4 separate regions of the Homo sapiens genome follow, and all the other regions are linked to region 4. The links are contacts of gene promoters, found by promoter capture Hi-C in human tissues and cell types (Jung and others, 2019). All regions are on one chromosome and are shown on one strand. The core of a region is centred on a gene start or on the middle of the fragment in contact, and the rest is flanking DNA. Distances in the headings are between cores, read along the strand shown. Region 1 overlaps DYM (dymeclin). Region 2 overlaps DYM (dymeclin). Region 3 overlaps DYM (dymeclin). Region 4 holds the start of CTIF (cap binding complex dependent translation initiation factor).

Region 1 (3,891 bases), core at 260-2,759, 640 kb after region 4:
GGAATTATAGGTCTTTACTGGTAAATGCCTTTTTTCAACACCTATTAGCTTCATCACTATAAAAAAATCTTATGTCTGTAAAAACTTTATCCATTTATTTCAACTTCCTTTTGATCTTTGTGTACCTAATTATTAATTTATACTTGTCCTACACATTTTTCCCATGTCTTCCTTTATCTTTTGTTTGTAGGTTTGTCTCATTTCTTATGTGAATACAAGTTCAAGGGCACAGATGTCCATTCCTCTTTTCTTCTTTTAACACTTCCACAATGCCTCCTGTATATACCAATGGTTTCAGTGGGTTAATGATCCCTCATTTTCCTTTTAAATAAACTATCTACTGACTGGTGGATAAGATATTCTTTGAGTTAAAGTTCTAAAACTACTTTTTAGAAAAACCACAAAACCAATCATATATTTACAGTAACTTCATAAGAAACCCATCTCTACTGTGACTCATCCTGAATAAAGAAGTAGCTCCCTTTCCAACCTCTTAATACATAAACCGAAACCACAAAGAGAGAACAATTTCCATGAATGAAGTTGTTATCAATGCCTATAGGAAAGCCATGGATTTAACTCCTTAGGCCTTAAATTAGAATCTTAATTTAACACAGTTCTCAGAAAGCTCAGTTACTGGCTTCCTCAGTGAAAGCTTCTAAATAATAAAAGCAACAAAGAAGAAAGGAAAACCAGAATGGGAATATGTGGAAATGGGAAAAATCTAAGAGTAGTGTGACCAAAAAGAGAAAAATGGGCCTCAACATCAAAGAAGGAGCAAACTCAGAATTCCACTATGGTTTAGTACATCAGTACATGCTCAAATCAACAACCCTGCAGCAATGAGAAAAAGATTCAAATGTGTGTAAGGTCTTTACTTCAAACTCCTAAAAGTCTGCAATAGCAAGATCTCTATCCCAAATACTTTCTAACATTTTTAAGGTGGCGCTTTAGTGAAACATACTTTTGTTATTTGGAAAATATGTGGAACTGCACAATTCCCAAGAATGCTAGATAAATGATGTATCACTTAAAGATTCTTATGGTTTCAAATAGCCCAGTTATTTCAATATCAACAGAATATTTCCAAAATGATAAAATTATAATTCTTTCTAATAAAAATACACTAACAATAGAGAAAATAAACGATAGTAATCCTCAGAAATAACCATGGATTAAATGTACTTTTGGAATATAGTCCTTTATTATAACTACCGATAATTACAGAGGTAGAATTCTATCAGTAGTTTTAAGAATGCCACCATCTCCAGATAATATTATAGATCAAATCAAGTTGGGTATAACCTGATAGGAAATAATCTATTTTAAGAACTGTAATTAATGTTTAACCATGTAACCCCCCCACCACGCCCCCATTTTCCTAAAACCCAGACATAAATTCATGCTTCGTGCTCCCTCTGCTGGCTCAAAAGCTACAGTTAATTCCCATTACAGCACACTGAAGGGCATTGATACATTATATTTGGGATCTTCACAATGTAATCCAGCTCCCTTCTTTGAGTGTTGATGAAAAACAAGAGAGGTGACAACTAGACCACAGTCACAAAGCTTTCTGAGAGCCAGAACAACTCTGGTCTTTTGACTCCCAATCCAGTGCTCTTTCCATTCCATAATGATCTCACTGCCTTCATGTATGAGACTATTACTGAACTTTATTTTGCTATGAGTTATTTAAAATCTGAAGCTCAGTAGCTTTGGGTTACACAGACTTTTCACTGTACTGTAATTACAACTGATAAGGAGATTTGACCAATATTCAGTAAAGATCTATTAGGCTTAAAGAGTGTCTCCATTTCTAATTTGTTTGAACAGTGTCCAATTTAAGACACCTACTGTAAAGTTTCTTGATATACTGAGTACTTAAAATGTCACCTAATGTGATTCTACCATTTGCTTACAAACCATGTCACAACTTTTGACTTGGAATATATAGTTACCACACAATATATCTTCAGGTCTGTCAAAACCATAAAGTTATTTTGTTGTGATGATGATGATGATGATGACAACAACGATGAATAGGCTTATAGTTACCATCTATAGAGTATCTATTACACAACAAATACAGGATTGGGTCTTTAGAGAAATCATTGTCAACATAAGGTAGATATTACTATCCCTATTTTACAGAGAAGGGAGCTGAGGGAAAGTAAATTGCCCAAGGTCTGTTTAACACGAAGTATCTACTGCTTCCTCTGTATGTAAATGCTTTGATATTTTGTTCATTCTTAATCAGCAGAGATAGCAACAGTAAAATAATCTCTTACTACCAGCACCATCATTTCCACTTAAGGCAAAAAAAGAAAGCAAAAGATACTTTATTCAAAGCATGAATCTGTTGAACTTCTTTAAAGTTTATACTAAAGTGGAGAGGGTTAATATTTTCCTTACTTTTGGTAGAGGAAATTACATGACCTAGACTATAAATGTTAGTATTTAATTCCAGTTTACTTTTGTATAATAGATGTATTTAATTATTTGTCAAGTGATCTGTTGTATGGAAAAACCTAACTCTAGTCTGATAACAATGCTAGTTAGATAGAAACAAACAGTCCCAGATTAAAGAATCTAATCTGTTCAGTCAAAAAGTAAATATTTATTAAGCTAGAATATACAAGTCTATCTTTGTAAGGAAGACTTTTTTCTTGATAAGAGATATAAATTATTATCTAAATCATGGACAGCTTTTATTCAAAATGAAGTTTAATTTCTGTGTTCCTTTTGAAACCAGAAAACTATAGATGTCAGTGCCCATCCTCGTTCTCTGGTAGTGATTAGTTGTTATTTTCATAAATGGGAATCATATTAAATAAAGAATTTAAATAGGAAAACAATGTTAAAGTGAACACCTTTCTCAATTATTTATCAGTAACCTATATGGACAGTACAGGCAACAAATGTCAATATTCTAGAAATGAGAAAGTAGCCTATGGTAAACTCCACATTAAGGAACTTAAAGAAAATTGATAAATGATTGTAAATTTTAACCTTGCACAATTTAACATGATAAACTTGATACCTGGGGCACTACAGCTAGCATCATATAATATTTATGGATACCAATGATTTTTCAACTGAAAGATAAAATAACCTCATTTTTGATGTTATGCAGAAAGGAATATAGGCTAATTCAGACACATTTGTATTTAAACACCCACTCCTCCATTTAATAGCTCATGGGATTTCTGACACTTAATTTTTCTGAGACTCAGTTTCCTTATACTTGGTGATAATGATGGTGGCAGTTAAGAGTTGCTGTGATGGTTAAATTGAGGGAATTAATGTAAAAACCCTTAAGAGAGAACCTATGGAAAAAGTCACCATTCAGTTCCAATTGATTTCTGGCATGGAGGACTGTGGGCTCTGCATTGCCAGCTATTCCAACTTGTTATATGTTAGCAACAAATTCTAACTTCAAAAAACCAAAACCAAACAAACAAAAAAAACTGTGCAAACCAAACACAGCACCTCTCTAGCCTGAGTCCAGGCTGCAGGCCGTTAGTATGCAGTTTCTGATTTGGAGAATCACTGGAAATACCACGTCATGAAATGCAGCAAACCATCTAGAGTCAAGGTCGTGTTGGAGTTAGATGGGTATTTTAAACAAAAGAGATGTGCTCTGGTAAGAAAAAGTCAAGGATAAAAGTTAAGATGATTTATGAGAGAAACCCAAAGCAAAATGAATGTTTCCGTGGAACAGCATGATTTTGAGATCACTCAGAACTATATTTATATGCCAATGAAAAAATCTTTAATTTTTACATAAATGCATTTTAATTTAATCCTTGATCCCCCAGTAAAGAGAACATGTTATTCTGTTTTACGAGACACAAACCAGCTGGTTTATAATAGAATTGTCCAGAGTCCCCA
Region 2 (3,472 bases), core at 53-2,552, 870 kb after region 4:
AAGTGCAATTGCTAGGTCAATGAACACTTCTGTTCTGATGAATGTCGCAAATTATATTCCAGAAAGATTACCCACCAGTAGTGCATAATTGTGGCTTATAATCTTCCACACATTGCTAGATTTGCAAAGTTGCAAATCAAGATCTTTTGACACCAAATCCAGTTATCTTTAAACTCAAATAAGTATGTGATGATAGTAAGCAAGCATAAAGCTTTATTACAAATATGGATTGTTTTCCCTCTAAAATGGCCTACAGAGGAACCCATAAAGGGTATGATGTCTAAGTAGCAAATTATTACCGTGCCATGTAAATTTAGAAGGAACCCTATTCAACATGACCTAAATTCTTTAGCTGTCCCAGGCAATCAATTGTTGTATTAAATAACAAGAGGGACGGGGCACATAAATATTGTACAGAGTTTATAACCTCTATGGACTTAAACTCATGTGAGAATCCTCTGGCATAACAAACGGCTCTGGCCTAAACTTCAAGAATGGTCTAGTCAACAAAATACAGAAATATTCAGTTGTGACAGAAAAAGTAAAAACTCAGTAAATGTGGGCTGGGCACAGTGGTTCACACTTGCAATCCCAGCACCCTGGGAGGCCGAGGCAGGTGGATCACCTGAGGTCAGGAGTTCAGGACCAGCCTGCCAACATAGCGAAACCCCGTCTCTACTAAAAATACAAAAATTAGCCGAGCATGGTGGCTCACACTTGTAGTCCCAGCTACTCAGGAGGCTGAGGCAGGAGAATCACTTGAACCTGGGAGGTGGAGGTTGCAGTGAGCCGAGATTGCACCACTGCACTCTAGTCTGGGTGACAGAGTGAGACTCTGTCTCAAAAAAAAAAAAAAAAGAAAAAAAAGAAAAAAACTTAGCAAATATTAAATAAAAAATTCTGGATTATATTTGTTCATTATAAAGACACATGATTGACTATATTGCTGCTTAAGCAGAAAATGCTTCCAAATGTCATGAGCCACAATTCAGGAGGTGATGGAAGAGAAACAACCATGGCCTTGATGGTAGATCTGCTCTCCACCACAACTCAGGGGAGACCCCACCACAGCTCATGAATGATGGAATAAAAAGACCAGAGCTTGGTGTTAAAGCATGTATCCCTTCATTCATCAACAGAGTACCACTGTTGGATGTCAATTAGTTTTCCCATCCTGGCAAATTAATAAGGAAAAAATATTTGTTGGTAGGGAAAAAAAGCCTCTTTCATATGAAGCCTGTAGTTCAAGAATTCAAGTTTCCACAATAAAAATAAATATATAACATGGACCATCTAATAAACTAAATACCTAGTCCTGATAATTGTCACATATGAAAATATGCAAGAGGTATTTACAATATGTTGGTCAATTGGTGTAGCAGGTCAGGCAGGCTACAGTTTGCAAGTGAAATACTCACAACTGGGGTCAACAGAAGCAGCACACTTAAGCTAACTCAGCTGATGTTCTGTGACTTAGGTCGTGGAGCCTATACGTAGTACCTAAAGAAACGATTTGTGCCTCTTTAGTGGTTTCTATCATCCAACACTTTTTTCCTTTGTCATCTCAATCTGCTTTTCTACTAACTCATCTGTCTCTTTCTTCTTCATCTGAACACTTTGGATTTTGTGTGTGTGTGTTTTAGAGACAGGGTCTCGATGCATTCCCAAGGCTGGATTACAGTGTCATGATCCCAGCTCACTGCCGCTTAGAACTCCTGGGCTCAAGCAATCCTCCCACCTCAGCCTCCCGAGTAGCCAAGACTACAGGTGTGTGCCACCATGCCCAGCAAATTTTTTTTTGTAGCAATGGAGTCTCATTATGTTGCCCAGGCTAGTCTAGAACTCCTGGCCTCAAACAATCCTCCTGCCTTGACCCCCAAAGTACTGGGATTACAGGCATAAGCCACAGTACCCAGTCACTGGATTTTTAAGTATTATAAGAGGTACCAATGGACACTGCCAGGCCATGGTGTTGGTCCTCAGGGATTAAGGTTAAAAAAAAATAAGAAGTTGAATAATATATACTCTTAGAAGAAAAGCTTACCAATTGGTTGTATAATAACACCACAACCTCAAAAAAAAAAAAAGTCTTATTATATACATTTAGCAGACTTCACTGATCTGAAATTTACTAATTCAGGATTGGGGGCTGTTTGTCTAAAATTGAGTTGAAGCCTGGACAACATAGTGAGACCTTTTCTCTACCAAAAAAAAAAAAAAAATTAGCTGGGCATGGTAGAGTGCCTGTAGTCCCAGCTGCTCCTTGAGCCCTGGAGGTGGAGGCTGCAATGAGCTGCCCTCCAGCCTGGCCAATACAGCAAAACCCTGTCTCAAAAAAATTAAAATTAAAATTAAAATTAAACAAATTGAGTTGAAACTGACTTTTGTGTTATACTTTAAAGAAATCATTTTGACAAGGGAGAGGGGATTTAGAAAAAGTATTATTTAACCTTCTACAAAAGAAATGTGTTTAAAGATGTTAGCATATTATTGTCCATATGCAAATAAATTTGCTGAAATAACTTGCATTTTGTACAGGCCTATATACACTATTCAAAGTTCTTTCACCTTTATTATTTCATTTGATTTCTTTTAAAAACCCTGAGAAGTTGACCGAGGAAATGGGAGTATCCTCACTTTACAAGTGACAGAAATAGAGAAGCAGAGTAACTTGTCCAATGTCACGGTATAAGAATAAACATATTTAACTTCCAGATTAATACTCTTTCAATATGAATAATATTAAATGAGATACTCTTAAGGCAAACCCACATAATATCAACCTAGAAACACTCCAGCAACTAGTTGGAATTTCTATATATTCCTAAAAGAAGTTGTGTCACACATAAATTATTATAAAAAGTATATCTACATTATAATTCCAATCATGCAAAAATTATGTGAATTATAAAGAATTGGAAGAAAACAAAATTTTAAATCTAATAAGGAAAATGGTAAGATGATAGACGACTTTCTTGTAACTGCTATGAAATCATAAACTATAGTGTGGTCGGGAAGCTAAAATTTTAAATTAAGTATTCCCTACTTCACAGTTTTCTGTAATTTAGACTGGTTTTATTTTACTTTTAGGCACACCGTTCTCATATATGAATCTCAATAATGAAAAGTGAGAAATTAATAGCTCAAATATTTTTAAGAAAAGCAGATAGGCAAAAAAATTGTTGGGGGAGAAGTTATAACAGACCTCTGAACACAGGTTTGCTGAACAATCAAACTGTAAGTTTCATAACATAAACACTGAAAATCCTTAGTCCCTTCAGCTGAAAGTTCCGCCATAAAATTCTTTCAAAACTGACATTTTATATTAATGATGTCAATTTCAGCCAACAACATACAAATTCTGATAAATATATAATGTTAGTCAAAGATATAACCTGAAAAAATCAACAAGTAACGATTCAGGAAAGGACAGAAGCACTTCTGAAGACATTTTCCCCCTTACCTTAGCAAA
Region 3 (3,631 bases), core at 79-2,578, 890 kb after region 4:
CCAGTCACGGCGGGGCGCAGTGGCTCACACTTGTAATCCCAGCACTTTGGGGTGCTGAGGATTTCTTGAGCCCAGGAGTTCAAGACCAGCCTGGGTAACAGAGCAAGACCCCATCTCTAAAAAGGTAGAAGAAAAAAAAAGAAAGAAGCCAGTCACAAAAGACCACCTATTGTTACAATTTCATTTACATGAAACGTCTAGAAGAGGCAAAGTTAGTAGTAGTTATTAAATTAGTGGCTGGACGCAGTGTCTCACGCCTGTAATCCCAGCACTTTGGGAGGCTGAGGAAGGTGAATCACTTGAGGTCAGGGGTTCGAGACCAGCCTGGCCAACATGGTGACATCTCATCTCCACAAAAAATACAAAAATTAGCCATGCATGAAGGCATGCAACCGTTAAGCCCAGTTACTCGGGAGGCTGAGGCCGAAGAATTGCTTGAATCCAGGAGGCAGAGTTTGCAGTGAGCAGAGATCGCGCCACTGAACTCTAGCAGACTGAGACTCCCTCTCAAAAAATAAATAAATAAATAAGTGGTTGCTAGTGCAATCTAGAGTTTGGGGGAGTGTCTGCTAATGGGCATGGGATAGGGCATGGGATGGTTCCTTTCTGGGATGATAATGTTCTAAAATTGGTGATTGTTACACAATTCTGTGAATAAAAACACTGAATAATACACTTTAAATGGGTGAATTACATGATATATGAAACATATCTCAAAAAGTGTATTATTTTTCTATTGCTACTACAAAAGTTATCAAAATTTAGTGGTGTGAACAACATAAATTTATTATCTTACAGTTCTGTAGGTCAGAAGTCTGACACTCAATGAGCTAAGATCAGGATGTCAATAAGGCTGCATCCCTTTCCAAAGGCTCTAGAGGGAAATCTGCATCCTTGCCTCTGCCAGCTTCTAGAAGCTGCTCATATTTCTTGCTCATGACCTCCCTACCATCTTCAAAGCCAGCAAGGGCAGGCTGAGTCCTCCTCACATCACATCTGACTTTCTCTTCTACCTCCCTCTTCCACTTTCAAGAAGCCTTGTGATTACTTTGGGCCTGCCCAGATAATCCAAGATAATCTCCCTGTTTTAAGGTCAGCTGATTAGTAACCTTAATGCCTTTTGCTACTTTAATTCCCCTTTGCCATGTAATGTAACATATTCAGATTCTGCAGACAAGGACATGGACATCTTTGGGGGGCTACTATTCTGCCTATCATAATAAAGCTCTTAAAAAGTAAATAAAAAATTTTTAAATCTAGTTATTGAGTGTATGGGAATTCAATATTCTATTCATTCTTCATTATTATTGTCTGACAGTTTTTGTAATAGAATTAAATATGAGATATTATTTTTCACCTCTGAAACTGGCAGAGGTCAAAGGTCTAAAATGCATCAAACTGACAAAGATATGGGGAAACACACCTCTCATGCATTGCTGGTAGGTATGCAAATTGCTACAACTTCCATGGTGCACAATTTGGCATAGCTACCAAATTGCAAATGCACATACACTTTGACCCAGCAATTCTACTTCAAGGAATTTATACTAAAGATATATTGTGTGTATGAAAAATGATGTATGCGGCAGTAACTGTTACAACAAAGACTGGAAACAATCTAAATGTTCATCAACAGAAAAACCAATTAAATATATTCTACAGATACTCCACAGCCATTAAAAAGAATAAGGAAGTTGCAAATGTGCTACATATACAAGATATATTTTACTTAACTGTGGAAAAAAAGGCAAGGGACAGAACAGTACGTGTAGTATGCTACCATTTGTATTTAAACAATTTTGTGAAACTATATGGGATATATGCTTAAGTAACCTATATTATCTCTAGAACGATTCAAAATAAACTGCTACCAGTGATAACCTCTAGAGAAGGGAGGTGGCTACTGAGTTGGGTAAAAAGAAAAGCTTATTTTCTACTTTCAAATCTTTTGGATTTTCTACTGATCTATGTATGACAGATAGACTAGATAGATAGACAGAACATTTCTAAATTTTTTTTTAATCAGCATACCACACAAGTTGATATGGCCCTCTATTCAAATTTTCAATCTCCAGGCAATCTCTTACCTGCTAGTTGGTGCAGGGAAAGAAAATGAGAGAAGCTGATTCCAGAACGGGTCATTCTCAGAGATAGATTCCGTGCCTGATAACTTTTTCAAGTACTCATTTTTAGGAAGATCGCCGATTCTGCTGCTATTCGATCCCATCTTCTAGCTTAAGCAGATAATTTGTCCTTAAACCTGCATTTCCAAAAGACAACCTATAAAAAATAAAAATAAAAACTTTAAACTTGTTCAAAAGTCATCATGCTTTGTCTACCTATAAAAAAACTATAAACTTACTAAAGAAAATCACACATTTCTGTATTTATAAATATATTAGACATCAGATACAAAGTTACAAGAAATATGGGGCTAGGCCAGGCATGGTGACTCACGCCTGTAATCCCAACACTTTGGGAGGCTGAGGCGGGCAGATCATGAGGTCAAGAGATTGAGACCATCCTGGCCAACACGGTGAAACCCCGTCTCTACTAAAAATACAAAACTTAGCTGGGCGTGGTGGCACGCACCCGTAGTCCCAGCTACTCAAGAGGCTGAGGCAAGAGAATCACATGAACCCAGGAGGCAGAAGTTGCAGTGGGCCAAGATCGCGCCACTGCACTCCAGCCTGGCGACAGAGCAAGACTCCATCTCAAAAAAAAAAAAAAAAGAAATATGGAGCTAACACCTGTCTTAGCCAATACAAACACAAAAATCCGAATCTATATTGTACTTGTACCATGTATCTTAGGATGGGCATAGCTCTACCCAAGAAAATGTCTCAAAGCAAAATCATAATAATGGTAACTTATAATTAGTCTGAAAATGAAGCTGTTTTACAACCAAAACAATGGTGACAAAGAAATACAGAAATCTGGATGGCTTGAATGTACAAGGAAGGGAACATAGCTCAAGTAATTACCATGTGCTACTTCTACTTATGGGGGTCATAGGGACAAACCTGAATTACCAACTTCAAGTGAAAGAGATCCCAATTACAAAGGAATCACATTTAATGTTTCTGTCATTCTGCTGTAGGGCACATATGCAGTTTTAGTTGATATGCCTCTTCCCCTAAACCATGCACATTTTTACGACAGGAATTATCTCATTCATCTGTCTATGCCCACTGTCTAGACTAGCATGTAAAAAATTCCCTAAACAGTATGTTGAAGGAACAAGGGAGTGAATAAATAATTAGTATCCACGAGGCTCTTCAAAAGTCAGTATTGGTTGTTCTCAGTCACTAAGGGAAGAAAACTAGTTACAAATATGAATCACTGTCTCCCTTAAATCACACTTAACATAGATTTAGATCATGTTTTATCTTGATTTGTTCAGAAAAGTTCTCCCATTGAATAATAAAATGGTGATAAGATAAATAATACATTATACTATTTTAAAATTACCATCACAATGAAAGGAAACTACATGGCCTCAGGGACCAAAGGCGGCTCAGGTCAGGTGAGAATGTGTATTAGTGACTCACTTTCTTCCTCATGTCCCTTCTCATTCCACAAAGGCACTGAAGCCACGGTCAGAATTTGGGAGCTGGATTGAGCTGCTTAT
Region 4 (3,520 bases), core at 1-2,500:
AAAAAAAAAAAATTGGCCAGGTGTGGTGGCGGGCGCCTGAAGTCCCAGCTACTTGGGAGGCTGAGGCAGGAGAATGGCATGAACCAGGGAGGCAGAGCTTGCAGTGAGCCAAGATCACGCCACTGCACTCCAGCCAGGGCAACAAAGAGAGACTCAGTCTCCAAAAAAAAAAAAAAAGAAAAAAAAACTTAGAAATTCTTTGCTCAAGTATCACTTCCTCCAGGAAGTCTTCCTGACCCTCTCCCAGACCCCACCCACCCTCCATCCAGTTGGCTGCTCCAGGTTGTGTGGTGGGGGGAATTTCACAGCACTTTGTGTTAAGCGCTGACTTATCCCTTGTATAATACTTTCATTGACTGTAGTCCCTAATACTGGACTGAGCTCCTTGAGCGCAGAGACTGTGAGTCTTACCTGTTTTGGCATTCCTAGACACACCTGGTCTGTGGAAAGTGCTCACTAAATGTGAATATAAACTAATGAATAAATGGGTTTCTACAGCAGTTTATACTGCATCACACAGTTCCTCTAATGAATTTCTAGCCCCCTTCCCTGTTGGGGCATACAGTATTTTATTCAGTATTTCTCCTGAAGGCCTCTCTGTGCCAAGCTCAGTTTTAACCAAAACATTGGTGATCTGGTTAAGTCATTACTGAATTATCCACTACGTTGAATTCTCCCAACCACCCCGTCCCAGCCCTTAGCTTGGCCGAAGGAAAATTAATTGGTTGCAAAGTGCGTATCTAATTACAACAGCCAGCCCCCGACACAGAGATGCTCAAATGTTAATTATAACATATGCATCTCAATAACCGACGGTGGCATTTAGTGCAGCATTAATCACGCCACTTGGGCCCCCCAGTGCATACACAAAGCTCCTTTTCATCTGCCATTAGCACAGACTTTGCACTTTCGGCACGGACGTTCTCATCCTTAAAGCCTTTCGGACTCTAAAACCAACGTTTCCCTGTAAGCCTGGACTGCGCCTAAGCCCCCAGTTCTCCCACCGCAGAGGCCCCCACCCAGGGCTGCGCCAGCGCCGTGGGGTCGCTGGGCGGCGGGTTTTGGCGTCGCTAGACTGGGCTGTCTTGGCAGCTAAGGCGACATCCCGAGCGTCCTGGGGCCACCCTGCTCTCCAGGGCCCGCCATCCTGGAAAAGAAAGGCGAACTACATTACCCAGCAGGCCTCCAGCCGCCCTCTTTCCTTTCAAGTCTTTGCACGTGGCCGGAGGGGAGGGCGGGGCCTGAACGTCACTCTCCTACATTCTCTTTCCCTGTGTCAGATCAGGGATCATTTTTTTTCCTTCCTCTACTCCCTCCCCCCTACCCGCCCCTCCCTCCCTGTTTCCCTTCCCTCCCTCCCTCCCCTCTCTGCTGGGTCTGTGCGCTGGGGCGCCCGATCCCCTCCGCAGCTGGGACGCTCCGAACTCGAGGCAGGAGTCGGCTCTCCGGAGCCTCGTCCCTCCCTTCCCCTTCCCTGCCCCCTTCCCCCACCCCCGACTCGGGCTTGGCGCGGCGGCCAGAGGAACCCCGAGGTGAGCATCTCCTCGCCCGTCCTCCTCTTATAGTCATCTCAGCTTGCTGATCGATTCGGGGACCCGGGAGGAGGGCTGCGTGACGTGGGCGTGCTTATAGATAAATCCGGGAAAACCGCCCCAAACAATCAGCCCCCTTCCCCCCATCCCTGCTCCTGGGCCAGCGGGGTGTCCGCACCCATCTACCATCCCCTCCTCCCCCTCGGTGGGGAACTGCACTCCACAGTGTCGCCCCCTCCCTGGGTTTGTCCCATTCCCTGCCGGGTTCCCCGCCCCGCGGGGTGTCGTGGCCCTGGAGCTCCGGCGCCAAGGGGGGCTCTTGGGGGACGCACGGCTGGAGCCCGGCTCGCTTTGGAGCTGCGCGGTGTAGCCGCTGTCATGTGCCGGGTTCCGACCTGGGAGGAGGAAAAGAGCGAGCGCGATTCCTCTCCCTTTTGTTTTGAAGCCCGCATTTGCTGCATCGAGCAGTTGGTTTAGTATCAGCCAAACTTGCAGCTGTTCAGACCGCGCTCCGCCGAGGTAGGGAGCCCGTCTCGGGGTGGCGTTTGGGGGCCGGGGGCTGCGGCACTCGGGGCTGCGGGAGGGACCCCGAGAGTGTGTCGCCACGCCGCCCCTCCCTTCCCCGGTGACTGATTGTGTCTGTGGCAGCGGGCGTGTGTGAGTGTGCGCGCCCGTCCCCGCGGGCTCGGGGATGTCTGTGGATGGCTGTCGTCTAGACAGGGCGCAGCCCCCTCCCTGCGTCCCCGGTGAGCCCGCGGGCCGCGGGGGGAGCGGGGGATGGGAGCAGAGGAAGAAACCAAATCGGTGGACCCGTTGCGGTCTCCCCTTTGGTTATTCCCAACGGTTGTGGTTCTGTTGGCTTTTTTTATTATTCCTGTCGCTGCGGTGCAATCGGGCCTGGGGAATAGATACGCCCGGCGGAGAGGGGTTCACTTGACAGGCTCTGAAAAGCCACCTCTGGGTGGCGAGTGACCCGAGAGGCCGTGGGGTGGGCTCCGGCTCGGGTTCATCAGGACGACGAGCAGGTAACTGTCCCGGGCGCCGGTCATGGGGGAGGGCGGGCGGGGGGGCGATGGCTTGGGCTGCGGCGAAGGTCTGGGGCCTCGGAGGGCCGCGTGCCGGTGCCTGGATGTGGCCGGAGGGGGCGTCCGGGACACCGCGCGCCTGAGCCGAGTGTTTCTCTATTGATGGTAAAAGACAATCGGGAGGGGGGTGGTCCGAGCCCGTTATCTGGGCGGCGTTGGCTCTGTTTGGTTCCGCGGAGTTTTCAGGGTTGGGGCTGGGGGGTGTGAGCACCGCGGGGTGTGCGGCGTGTAGAGGGGAGGGCTGACTGGCGGCGCCGCGTGCGTCTCCACCCCGAGGAGTGAGGCGTCGCCTCCCCCGCCCGGCTGTTTGTGTGTACACACGGCTCCGGTGTGTGTGGGGGGCGGGGACCGCAGACCGCGGCGTAGTGGGGACAAGCGTGGGCCCCGATCCTCCGCGCGACCTGTCCCGCCAGCCCCCTCCTTGTCTAAGTCGGGGTCGTGTGTCCCCGCGCGCGCGCGCCCGAGTTACTTGGAGAGGGGACCGTGCGGCTGTGGGCCGGGGAAGACCGTAGGGTCGCGTGTGCTGGTCTTCGGTGCAGGAGTCCCAGGTCCGCTGTGCGGCCGGAGTCACACAGCCCCTCCCTCCGCGTCCGCGACGCCCCGTGACCCGGCAGACTGGGGGTCCACCCGGCGGCGCGGGGGGTTGGTTTGGCTGCGCCGCCCCCAGTCCACGCTGGGGTGACCCCGCACCGAGGCGTTCTATGGGTGTGCGTGCCCGCGCTCGCCGCCGCTGCCTTCGCAGACCGGGGAGAGAGTCAGCGACTGCCAACCGCAGCCCCGGCTCTTCAGTCTGGGGACAGTGGGAGCCCAAGCCCAGCGCGCCCCAGCCCGGCCCAGGCCGCCGCCCGCCCGGCGCTGTGTCTCTGCGGCCCGAGGATTATCCCCCAGTCCAGGGGCCCGCGC

What was found. Contacts are between HindIII fragments. The study calls those that stand out against the background at their distance.
Region 1: a contact is called between a fragment that was not itself captured here and the fragment with the promoter of CTIF in region 4, in 3 of the 25 tissues and cell types used here (dorsolateral prefrontal cortex, heart right ventricle and hippocampus).
Region 2: a contact is called between a fragment that was not itself captured here and the fragment with the promoter of CTIF in region 4, in 2 of the 25 tissues and cell types used here (dorsolateral prefrontal cortex and heart right ventricle).
Region 3: a contact is called between a fragment that was not itself captured here and the fragment with the promoter of CTIF in region 4, in 2 of the 25 tissues and cell types used here (IMR-90 fibroblasts and heart left ventricle).

Annotation. Positions count from the first base shown.
Region 1 is chr18:49,177,548-49,181,438 of GRCh38, forward strand. All of the region lies in intron 14 of DYM (dymeclin), which reads right to left. Among named protein-coding and RNA genes, the nearest start is that of MIR4744, 130 kb to the left of the region's middle. The HindIII fragment of the contact is 6,578 bases long and covers 1-3,891 here.
Region 2 is chr18:49,408,442-49,411,913 of GRCh38, forward strand. All of the region lies in intron 2 of DYM (dymeclin), which reads right to left. Among named protein-coding and RNA genes, the nearest start is that of DYM, 50 kb to the right of the region's middle. The HindIII fragment of the contact is 3,355 bases long and covers 1-2,980 here.
Region 3 is chr18:49,428,168-49,431,798 of GRCh38, forward strand. DYM (dymeclin) reads right to left here. Exons shown (of 18, transcript NM_001353214.3): 2 at 2,088-2,280. The coding sequence starts at 2,227. Among named protein-coding and RNA genes, the nearest start is that of DYM, 31 kb to the right of the region's middle. The HindIII fragment of the contact is 7,598 bases long and covers 1-3,631 here.
Region 4 is chr18:48,537,781-48,541,300 of GRCh38, forward strand. It overlaps CTIF (cap binding complex dependent translation initiation factor), which reads left to right and starts at 1,251. Exons shown (of 12, transcript NM_014772.3): 1 at 1,251-1,532. RefSeq lists silencers at 1,357-1,436, 1,937-2,296, 2,727-2,816, 3,137-3,520. The HindIII fragment of the contact is 11,515 bases long and covers 1-3,520 here.